2 separate regions of the Homo sapiens genome follow, and region 1 is linked to region 2. Evidence: promoter capture Hi-C in 16 types of primary human blood cells and fetal thymus (Javierre and others, 2016). All regions are on one chromosome and are shown on one strand. The core of a region is centred on a gene start or on the middle of the fragment in contact, and the rest is flanking DNA. Distances in the headings are between cores, read along the strand shown. Region 1 overlaps FAM219A (family with sequence similarity 219 member A). Region 2 holds the start of ENHO (energy homeostasis associated).

The links. The method cuts DNA at HindIII sites, captures the fragments that hold promoters and counts their contacts. A CHiCAGO score of 5 or more calls a contact.
Region 1: a fragment that was not itself captured here is called in contact with the fragment with the promoter of ENHO in region 2 in 1 of 17 cell types (endothelial precursors); the score reaches 7.3 in endothelial precursors.

The regions. Positions count from the first base shown.
Region 1 is chr9:34,417,526-34,423,142 of GRCh38, reverse strand. All of the region lies in intron 1 of FAM219A (family with sequence similarity 219 member A), which reads left to right. It overlaps LOC124902145 (a long non-coding RNA gene), which reads right to left. Exons shown (of 3, transcript XR_007061465.1): 2 at 406-505. Among named protein-coding and RNA genes, the nearest start is that of SPMIP6, 23 kb to the right of the region's middle. The HindIII fragment of the contact is 2,893 bases long and covers 535-3,427 here.
Region 2 is chr9:34,519,898-34,525,083 of GRCh38, reverse strand. It overlaps ENHO (energy homeostasis associated), which reads left to right and starts at 2,094. Exons shown (of 2, transcript NM_198573.3): 1 at 2,094-2,307; 2 at 3,228-4,041. The coding sequence starts at 3,389. The coding sequence ends at 3,619. It overlaps DNAI1 (dynein axonemal intermediate chain 1), which reads right to left. Exons shown (of 20, transcript NM_012144.4): 20 at 4,100-4,426. The coding sequence ends at 4,328. RefSeq lists silencers at 1,669-2,038, 2,059-2,168 and an enhancer at 2,798-3,350. The HindIII fragment of the contact is 3,209 bases long and covers 1-2,942 here.

The sequences.
Region 1 (5,617 bases), core at 732-3,231, 100 kb after region 2:
TCACTCTGTCGCTCTGTGCAATCATGGCTCACTACAGCCTCAACCTCCCAGGCTCAAGTGATCCTCCCACCTCAGCCTTCTGAGTAGCTAGGACTACAGACACGTGCCACCATGCCGGGCTAATTTTCTTTAATTTTTCTGTAGAAATGGAGTCCTACTATGTTGCCCAGGCTGGTCTCAAACTCCTGGGCTCAAGCAATCCTTCCACTTCGGCCTTCCAAAGTGCTGGGATTACAGGTGTGAGCCACCGCGCCCAGCCCATATTATTTTTATATGTCCAGAACCCAGCACAGTGCCTAGAATATAGATGCCCTTAAAATGTAGGACCAGAACTGAATTTGGTGGCTAAGGCCCCTTTCATCTCCTTTTCTTGCACTGCCCTCTTCTTTTGTCTCCTGGGCTCACCATTCTCAGTTTCCAACGCATTTTCTTTCTTGTTGCTTCCTGCCAGTCTCTCTCTCCATCTTGAGCTATCGACTGCTTCAGTGGCTCCAATATTTCCTTCCTGTGGAGAACTCAATTGAGCAGGAAGCTTGTGATCAGAAAGCATCCATGCTATTTTCTAAAGAGGGGCTACAAGTTTGTGTTGAGCTCCAGAGACATGATTGAACTAGGTACCAGCCTTCCAAGTGACTGCTTTGCAAGACAACAGTCCCACAGAGGTGTAAGTTCTGGTACGTTGTTAATCTCATGACTTTATCTAAGTCTCTGAGAAGGGGCTGGGGTAAGAGAGATGAGGAAATTAGATTCAAATTGCCTACCAGGTGTGACTTTGGACATATTACTTTATGCAACCTAGTTCTTCAATTTTAAAATGAAAATGATATTTGCCTTACTTGGTTTTGGGGAGGATTCAATGAAATAATATAGATAAAGCACTTAGCACCATGGCCGTACCTCTGGCAGGTATTTAAGCAACATTAACTAAATGACTGGATGAGTTTTGGAAGAACTACACCTGGGCTAAATTGTTCCGAACAACTCCCTGCCTGGATCCAGCCAGAGTTCTTAGTAGAGCTGCCTCCCCAACGTGAGCTTTGAGAAGTCCCTCCTCTTCTCTCCTCTCTTCCCAGACTATTGTTCCCTCTTGCCACTAGGAATGTAACCAGGTTAAGGTCAGGGTGGAGGGCTCTTTGAGAGGCTGTCTGGGGATGGTGTGGGCGTAGAGAGGCTGGCCTAGAGCCACACTATTCCAAGTGTGGTCGCTGTATTAACAGCATTGGTACCACCTGGGAGCTAATATGAAATGCTGACAATTCAGGTTCCAGACCTACTGAATCAGAATCTGCATTTAAATAATATGCCCAGATGATTTCTATGCACATTAATATATGAAGAAACACTGTCCTAGGGGCACAGATGGGTTCAGCAGGGGTGGAGGGTTGAGACAGTGCAGGTGTGTCAGCTGTCTAGAAGAGGTAGAGGTTGTATGGGGGTGGGGGAGGCTGTGGCAGGGGGGTGTACTCAGAGAAGAGGAAGTGTCCTCAGAGATGTGGGTTGTAGAGCTGTAGGGGGCTCTTTGGGAAATGTTGGTCATTTGCTGTTTCAGCGGCCTTTCCTATTGATGCCTGGAGTACGAGGTGGTACCCCTTCCTATTGATGCCTTGAGTATGAGTTAGCCGGTAAGTGTCACTGCACCAGCCAGGGAGTGACAGGTGGGCAGGCAAAGGCTCTCTACTGCCCTGAGCCTGCAGAGACGTTCCTGCAAGTATCCTAGGACCATCTAGCTTAGCAGTTGAGTATTGTTTTCCATGGAGATGCATAACCAGCAACTGGCTAGCCTCACCCCTAAAAACACACCCTGAGTTGGTGTTACTCTACAATCTCCCCTCCTTACCTCTGTACCCCCAGCTGGCACACACACACCCCTATAACACACACACATGAACTTTCTTCTCTTGGGAGACTCAGATGGGAGTTCATAAGTAGGGTTAACCCTCCCCTTCCCCTCTCTGACCTGCTTGACCCCAGGCTGGCCCCCAGGCCTCTATGGGCCCCTCAGCCCTGACCTCCCTGCTGCACGGAACAGGCCTTGTGAGAGTGACTGCAGGCCCTAGGCTTGGCTGGATGCAGCAAAATTTGTTTCAGCAGAGCCATTCTCTCTCTCTCTCTCTCTCTCTCTCTCTCTCTCTCACACACACACACACACATACACACACACACACACACGAGTTTCACTCTGTCACCCAGGCTGGAGTGCAGTGGTGTGATCACAGCTCACTGCAGCCTCAACTTCTCAGGCTCAAGTGATCCTCCTGCCTCAGGTTCCCAAGTAGCTGGGTCCACAAGCACATGCTACCACACCCGGCTAAGTTTTTTTTTCTTTTTTGTAGAGATGGGGTCTCACTTTGTTGCCCAGACTCGTCTTGAACTCCTGGGCTCAAGCAATCCTCCCACCTCAGCCTCCTGAAGTGCTGAGATTACAGGCTCATGAGCCACCACGCCTGGTCTTTCTCTTTCTTAAGCACTCTTAGGACAGGACTCTCAGTCCCTGATTGCCTTCTTAATAAAAACCCTTTCCAGCCACCCACCTAGAGCCTCTTGACCCTTCCTTTGGGTTATCTGTTTATCTCAATGGTAAAGGAAAAGGTCCTGCTGCAAATGACCCCCCAAAATGAGGTGGGGAGTAAGTGAGTGCCCTGTGGCAGGGTAGGAACTACATCAGCAGCAACGAAAAGTAGAGTCCTAGCCCCCAGGGCAGAGCTTCACCAGTAGTTGCTTTAAACCCTCTGCCAAAGTACCCAGTGACCAATAGCCAGGTCTCCACTTTAACCTGGCTCCTGCCCAGGCCCAATCTTGTATGTCAGAGAAGATAATATCGCTACCATTATCGCTCTCCTCTGTGCTCCTACCACCCTCCATGCATTCCTGCCTCTGCTGTTCCTCTCTCTTCCTTAAATAGGCTGATCTGTGTGCCTGTCATCTCTGCACTTTTAAATTCTTCTTGGCAAGAACCAGGGCTTGGTGTTTTTCCCTCCCCAGTGTACATTGTGCCCTCCCCCTTGTTGGGGTTCAGTGATTATCAAAGTTCTGAACAAGTGGCAAGTTCACCAATGTTTAATTATTGGGATGACAAAAAGGAAAGACTAGGAGACTGCTCTGGCTAGAGAGCTGAGCTTTAGAGCTGCAAATTATCTTTGTGGGCAAAGAGTAGTGCCTGCCAGGCATAATGGGGGTTAGAGACTTAGAACAAGCTAAAAAGGAGAGGAAGGGCAGCGACAGGAAATGCCACAGAGAGGAAAAGCTATTTGATACTAGCCCTCCAAGTCCATTGTCCATTGCAGACAAGTTGGTCCTTATTCTTCCAAGGCCAGAGGGAAGAAATCCCATAGACTCTGCCAATTACTTTGCTTTCCTGCAAATCAAGGAGCCCCAAAGATTTATGAACCAGTGCAGGCCAGGCTCAGTTCCTTGAGTAATTGAAGCTTACTAAAAAGCCTTAAGTGAGATTTGGGGCCAAGATTCAGACAAGAATCCACACGTCAATCTGGCCCAGACAAATGTCAGTGTCTGCTGGCATTTCTCCTGCTTCTGCTTCCTACCAGGTGTGGGGCTCTCAAGGAGTCTCCAACCACATGTCTTGTACTGATTCCTGGGCAGTATTCTCCTCAGTGTCTATGCCTCCTCCCTTATCTTGAAGAACTGGAATCCACATTCTAGAAGGAAACTGAAAGATCCTCTGGACTGTGCTCCCTAAAGCGCTGTTAACCTTGAACAACCTTGCCATCTTCCTGTCCTCTGGGCCCTGTCTAAGGGGCACCTCAAGTAGAAAGCCCCCAGAAACCCAACCCCAAATCCCCAGCCCCGTCCAACTCCCCTGGTCTTAGAATAATTTTCCCTCTCCTATGAAAGGCCTCATCCCCAAAAGTCTGTGTTGTCTGAATCTGAATATGAAAAGGGAAGGGACTGCCTCCTCCCCACTGCCCACCACACACCTTCTTATTTTGCTGCCTAGGTCCTGCTTCTCAATTTTTTTAAAAAAAAATTGTATTAGAATATGCATAACATAAAAGTTACCATTTTAACCATCATGGGGCTTTGTTTGTTTGTTTGTTTGTTTGTTTGTTTGAGACAGAGTCTTGCTCTATCACCCAAGTTGGAGTGCAGTGGTGCAATCTTGGCTCACTGCAACCTCTGCCTCCCAGGTTCAATAGATTCTCCTACCTCAGCCTCCTGAGTAGTTGGGGTAACAGGTGTGCAACACTACACCTGGCTAATTTTTTGTGTGTGTTTTCAGTAGAGACAGGGTTTCGCTGTGTTGTCCAGGCTGGTCTCAAACTCCTGGCCTCAAGTGATCCACCCACCTCGGCCTCCCAAAGTGCTGGGATTACAGGCATGAGCCACTGCATCTGGCCAATTTTAACCATTGTAGATCTATTTTTAAAGAACTTTGTACCTTAACTCCTTTCTCCATTAAATTAGATGATCTTTCCCTAAAGAGATTGAAATGGGGGAGGCGAGGGTGATGTGGGGTTCAAAGACCTTGTAGGTCACAAGACTTGACATAGGCCAAGACCAATGTCTTAAACTGGTCCAAATGTAAGGCAGGAGCATCCTCAACATCTGGCTAAGGGGATGAGGGCCAGGAGTAGGCCAAGCCAGTCCTCCCAGAAGGAAGTAAGCCTTCTCCACTTATGATTCTGGTGTCTACCTCCTGGGTCATGAGGCTTGGCCCTTAGGCCCTTATGCACAGGCTTCCCCCAAGCCATAGCTACAGTGATTATCCCTGAGTTGAGGTATTTATCCTATCTCCCAAATGAAGAATTTTTTATGACAGGGTTTTCTGGTGAGTGGTAATAGGAATGAATAGCAGAACATCAGTCTAAGACATCAGTCTTGTCCTAACCATGAAGAAGCAGAGCAGGATTCTAAATCATCTTTTAAAACATTCTTTGGCCCCCTGTCTCTTCATTTCAAAAACAAATCCTTTTTTTTTTTTTTTACCATCTCACTACCAGCTTCATACTTTCACCATCCTTTTCTCTCCCTGTTCCTGAGTAGCTATTTCTGAAAACTAAATAATAGGTAGGGTAATAGGAGCTGCTGCCCTAGCTGGGGTAACTCCAAAGCCATTTTGGTTAATTCTCCCACCCCACATCTAAAAGCAAGGGACACACTCTGTGAGATTTGCTTTCTGGCTCCGCAATTACCGTCACGGTTCCTACAGCTGACATGCTGGCACAGGTGAGGACTGGCTAAAGCACAGTGCCCAGTTGCCAGGCAGTGCCAGTGCTCCACTTAAAGCCCTTCCCAGTCTTCAGTGTAAGAGTCTTCCCTCCTTTTGTTCTTAATTGGTGGCCTCAAGTCAGGAGTATTTTGTCTGGCAGGTGATGCCCAGAGGAAATTCTGTTCTATGAAAGAAGATTTCCCAGAGGGAACCAGGTAAATGAGGACTGGAACAGAGCTCTCATGGAAGATAATGGGTAAATGTGATGACCTGAAATTCCCTGGCACACAGTGAAAAATAAAGCATTAAAAACCAGCTATACTCTCAGTCATGACAGGAGGCATTGTAAATTGGAACAATCCTTTGGGAAAGCATTTTGGCAATATCTATCAAGAAACTTAAAAGCACTCATGTTTTTTACTGAGTAATCTACTTTATTTAGGAAATGAT
Region 2 (5,186 bases), core at 845-3,344:
TCCCTGGGTGAGCTCATCTATTTTTCTCATTTAACTACCATTCTTTTGCTGACAACTCACAAAATATTATCTTTAGCCTGGACCTCTCTCCTGAACCTGTGTATTCAGTAAATGGCATCACAGCATCCCTCGTCACTAACCCGGGAGTCATCCCAGACTTTTCCTTCCTGCTTACCTCCCCTATCCTCTAGTTCTCTAAGTCCCACCAGCAGCAGCTCCCAAATATCCTCAATGCTCTCCTTTTCTCTCTACAACTTTTTCCTTCCATCATTTCAGTCCCTTATTATTAATCCTTGCCTTCACTCTCAAATGCTTTCAAGCCCCCATTCCACACCATAGCCCAAATCATCCTACTAATTTCTGGATATGATCGCATTACTCTTCTGCTCAAAAATTCTTCAGTGGCTCCCCACTGTTTTCAGGATAAAATCTGAACTCCTGCAGCTGGGTCACAAAATTCGCTCACATTACACTCAGATGTGCGATGATTTAAGTCTCCTCTGTTTCCTATAACTAGGCTGATCTTTCTCACAATGCCCTCACCCTGCTGGGTAATGGGCAGTGGGGGGGAGCTAAAAGTAATCCACTCTGGTAAACTCTATAGGATCCAATAATTTATTTTAGACAGTCTCTAAGTACTTTGGTAGCTTTGGATGACTCAGTCTTCCCTTTCTTCTTTCAAGATAGCATCTGGATTTACAGGGGTCTTATGTGAATTTCATGGCATTGGATTGGGGGAAGGGGCCTCTTAGTCACATGGTCCTGGGGGTTGTGTCAGCTGGCATTTGCTGAGATGTGATCGATCTGCTATAAATTAGTGAATAACAACCCTGAGAGGTAGCATTACAACCATTTTACAGATGAGGAAGCTGAGGCTAAGAGAGATTTAGTAACTTGCTCAAGATCACAAAGTTAGTAAGTGAACCAGGAATCAATACTGCCCCGATTACAGTAGGCACTTAGTTATATGAGTCTAGGATTCCAGAGAGAAGTTAAGGCTAGACTTGGGAGCACTGGGAGTCTTCATGATATAGCTTCAGGGATGTGATCCTCCAAGGAGAGCATGTAGAGCGGGATGAGAAGACGGCCGGATCAGAATAGGTGACAATCACTGGCCTGTGAAGGTCGGGGAGGACAAGGTCTACCTCACTGCTCCTGTCCAAGCTATCTTCTTCTTAGGGGAGCTTTTAGGATGGCAAGGCAGGATTTCCACCACGCCTGCACCTATTCCAGCCAGGGCAGAACCATCGCTCAGGACACTCCATTTCTGTCCCAGACTCCCCAACAGCCTGGCAGCAAGCCTGCGACCAACACTGGGTAGGAACTCAGTAAATGTGTCCAAAGAACCTGTGTTGCCAGAGATTTTCACACCTCTTAGGGCCAGGGAACCTGGGGCCCTCTAAAGTGGGAATGCAGAGTCCACACCCAGGTGGCAGAGGGAAGTGCGGGACTGCACTATAGGCGGTTCCCTAGGTGAGGAGATTCAGTCTCCTGCCAGGTGTGGGGACGCGGGGCCTTCCTCCGGATGACTTACTTAAGAGACCTCTCCCAGATACAGAGGGGTGGTTTCCTCACATGTGGAAATGCAGAGGCCTTGGCCTTTCTCGGATGTGGGGTGTACAACCCTTCCAGGTGTAGAAGGTGCAAGAAATCCCTACCAGAGGTTAGGCCTTGCCCCCACCCCATCCCCTCTCCCGGGAAGGATCCAGGGCCAGCTACTCCTTCGGCCCTCCTCCCGCCCCGCGCCGGCACGAGAGGCGGGCTGGTCCCCACCTCAGCGCACCACCAATGGTGCGGGAACCGGGGTTCGGCCAGCCAATTGAGTGGCGGCAGCGGCGCTGGGATGGCTCCGCCCCCGGGCCGCAGGCCGCCGGCCTCCCAGGAGGCGAGGCTCTTCGCTGTTTTTGCTGGCCGCCGAGCCCGGCCGAGCCCAGCCGAACGTAGCCGAGCCCAGCCGAGCCCAACCGAACGCAGCCGAGCCCAGCCGAACACCGCGCAGCTCCCGCCGCCGCCGCCCGAGCGCTGCCGAGCGAGCGAGCGCCGCGGCCGCGGAGGAGGTGCGGCCCCAAGGGGAGGAGGTGCCCGCTCACCGCAGACCGCCCGCGGCAGAGGCCGCCCCGGTCGCGCCGCGGCGGGAGCGGCCGGTGGAGGCTGCGCGGCCGAGGGGGAGGGCCGGGGGAGCGGACGTCGCCTCTGCTGGTCTCCCACCTCCCGCCGCCCCCCGCCCGCAGGCTCCCAAGCCTTAGTCGGCGCCGAGCATCCCGCTGCCCCGGACCCTCCCGCGGGCGCGCACCAGGCTCAACTCAGGTAAGAAGGGCCTCCCGCCACGGGCACGGGGGCCAAGAACACGCGACCCGAAGATGGAGATAAAGAGACAGAGACACACTGCCGCGGAGAGAGACGAACACAAAGACAGAGACACAGGAACCACCGAAAAGACCCCACGGAGAAGGGGATAGGGACACGTCCATGGGAACAGAGGGGGATACAGCCTGGAAGAGAGAGAGAGACACAGAGACTGATGCAGAGATACACAGAGACACACTGGTAGAGAAATGAGACATAGAGGAGACATACTCAGAGATGGGGACACACGGAGAGGCAGCCACACACACAGAGGTGGGTGTGCAGAGGCACAGGCACACATCCAACGGAGGGACAGTGAGACACCAGACACACACACACACCTGACCCAGAGAGGCAGCCCCACATAGAGGCACACAGCCCTGGACGCACAGAGCCTGCACATGCCTGCCAGGGCCTCCACAAAGTTCCCTCTGTGCAAGCTGGCGCCTCTGGAGGTCTCCTGGTCGGGCTGGCTGGAGTCCTGGGAGAGAGGAGGCGCCCAGGCCACACCAGAGCTGCTTACAACCCCCATCCTTTTGGGCTGGGGGCTTCCTGGATCCCACCCACCAACAGAGGGCTTTTGAGGGCTGCAAGCTTGGTGGGCAGGACCAGGGCATGCCCACCAGGTCTAAGGAGAATGAGATGACGGCTGCCTACTGCAGCTTCCCCACGGTGGCTACACACTCATTCAGGTGGCCAGAACCAAGCCTGTGGATGGGGGTGATGGCTCTGTGGGGTATTCGAGCCTGTTGGGACCCAAGGTCTTTCACCAGGGAGGCCAGAAATGTGGGAGGGAGGCTCTCTTCCCTACCTCTCTCCTCCTAGGCCTCACCCCACCCTTCCTCCTCACCACCCTCTCCTTTACTGTATACCCCCAACAGGCTCAGGACTGCAGGTAGACATCTCCACTGCCCAGGAATCACTGAGCGTGCAGACAGCACAGCCTCCTCTGAAGGCCGGCCATACCAGAGTCCTGCCTCGGCATGGGCCTCACCATTGAGGCAGCTCCACTGTCTGTGCTGGTCTGAGGGTGCTGCCTGTCATGGGGGCAGCCATCTCCCAGGGGGCCCTCATCGCCATCGTCTGCAACGGTCTCGTGGGCTTCTTGCTGCTGCTGCTCTGGGTCATCCTCTGCTGGGCCTGCCATTCTCGCTCTGCCGACGTTGACTCTCTCTCTGAATCCAGTCCCAACTCCAGCCCTGGCCCCTGTCCTGAGAAGGCCCCACCACCCCAGAAGCCCAGCCATGAAGGCAGCTACCTGCTGCAGCCCTGAAGGCCCCTGGCCTAGCCTGGAGCCCAGGACCTAAGTCCACCTCACCTAGAGCCTGGAATTAGGATCCCAGAGTTCAGCCAGCCTGGGGTCCAGAACTCAAGAGTCCGCCTGCTTGGAGCTGGACCCAGCGGCCCAGAGTCTAGCCAGCTTGGCTCCAATAGGAGCTCAGTGGCCCTAAGGAGATGGGCCTGGGGTGGGGGCTTATGAGTTGGTGCTAGAGCCAGGGCCATCTGGACTATGCTCCATCCCAAGGGCCAAGGGTCAGGGGCCGGGTCCACTCTTTCCCTAGGCTGAGCACCTCTAGGCCCTCTAGGCTGGGGAAGCAAACTGGAACCCATGGCAATAATAGGAGGGTGTCCAGGCTGGGCCCCTCCCCTGGTCCTCCCAGTGTTTGCTGGATAATAAATGGAACTATGGCTCTACCCTGAGGTTTTCTTCTCTTCCTGAGGGCCCTGTGGTAGCACAATTAAAGGTGTGGGGTGGGTTTCTACACAGGTTTATTTGTGCAAAGTTAGAGGGGTAATGGTGGTTGAAGACCAAGTCCTGGGGTAAGGTGCTGGGACCTTAAGGAACAGAACAAGAAGGGAAGATGCTGGGACCTGATCAGGAGTGGGGTCACATGCTGGGTGCTAAGGCTGGGCTGGGTACCAGGGTCAAGCCCTAGGAGTACTGTATTCAAGCGATGGGACAGAGACTGAGGCCAGCCCCTCAGGTCTTGATTTTCACTTCCCTCACCAGGTTCAGCAGTTTGTCCAGTTTCGCAATCTCCACAGCTGGACCCTTCTGCACCTCCTGCCCCTTCTTTTCCTGGGGAGAGGGAAAGTATACATGAGGGAGGAATGGTGGGCCCCCCCTCTCTGGGTCCCAGCACCACCTCCTCTGCCCAGCCTGTCCAGCTGTGCCCTACCCCTCCCCTGCCCAGTAAATTCTGGATCCCTGCCTCCCCTCTCCCTGACACGATCATTCCCCAACTCGGGTTAGGTGACACAGGGGCTCAGCTGACAGCTTGCAAAAAGGAGTCCAGCTCTGGCTTGAACCTCAGATGGACATGGGGTCTTGATGCTTGTGGGAGTGGGAAAAGGCATCCATTCCCTGACCCTCAGGGGAACAACCTTCCAGGCCAGGGAAATCCAGCTCTGCGAAGGCGGGGGGCTGACTGCTGGCACCATCCTTACCATGGGAAGGTCCCTGGCCGAGACCTATCAAGGAGCTAATGGGTATGTGTTTGGGGAGGGAGGGGCTGTGGACAGAGCCTCAGGGGCCCGGACCTCACCTAGTCCTCTCACCTGATGCCTTCAGGTCAGGTTGGCAGTGGGTGCTATTTGGGGCGAGACCTGCTGTGTCAGACATACCCAGGGTTGGGAAGAGTGTCAAGAGACCCATAAGGGCAGAGGGAATAGTCCATGTGACTCCAGGTGTCGTTGGCTGAGGTTGTCCTTTAGAAGACCAGATCCTGAGTTTATGACCCAACACCCTACCTGCAAAGCACTCCAATCCTTCCATTATAAGTTGGACACTGGAGTGTGTGTCACCCACAGGTCCTGAGAACTCCTTGGCAGACCAGCAC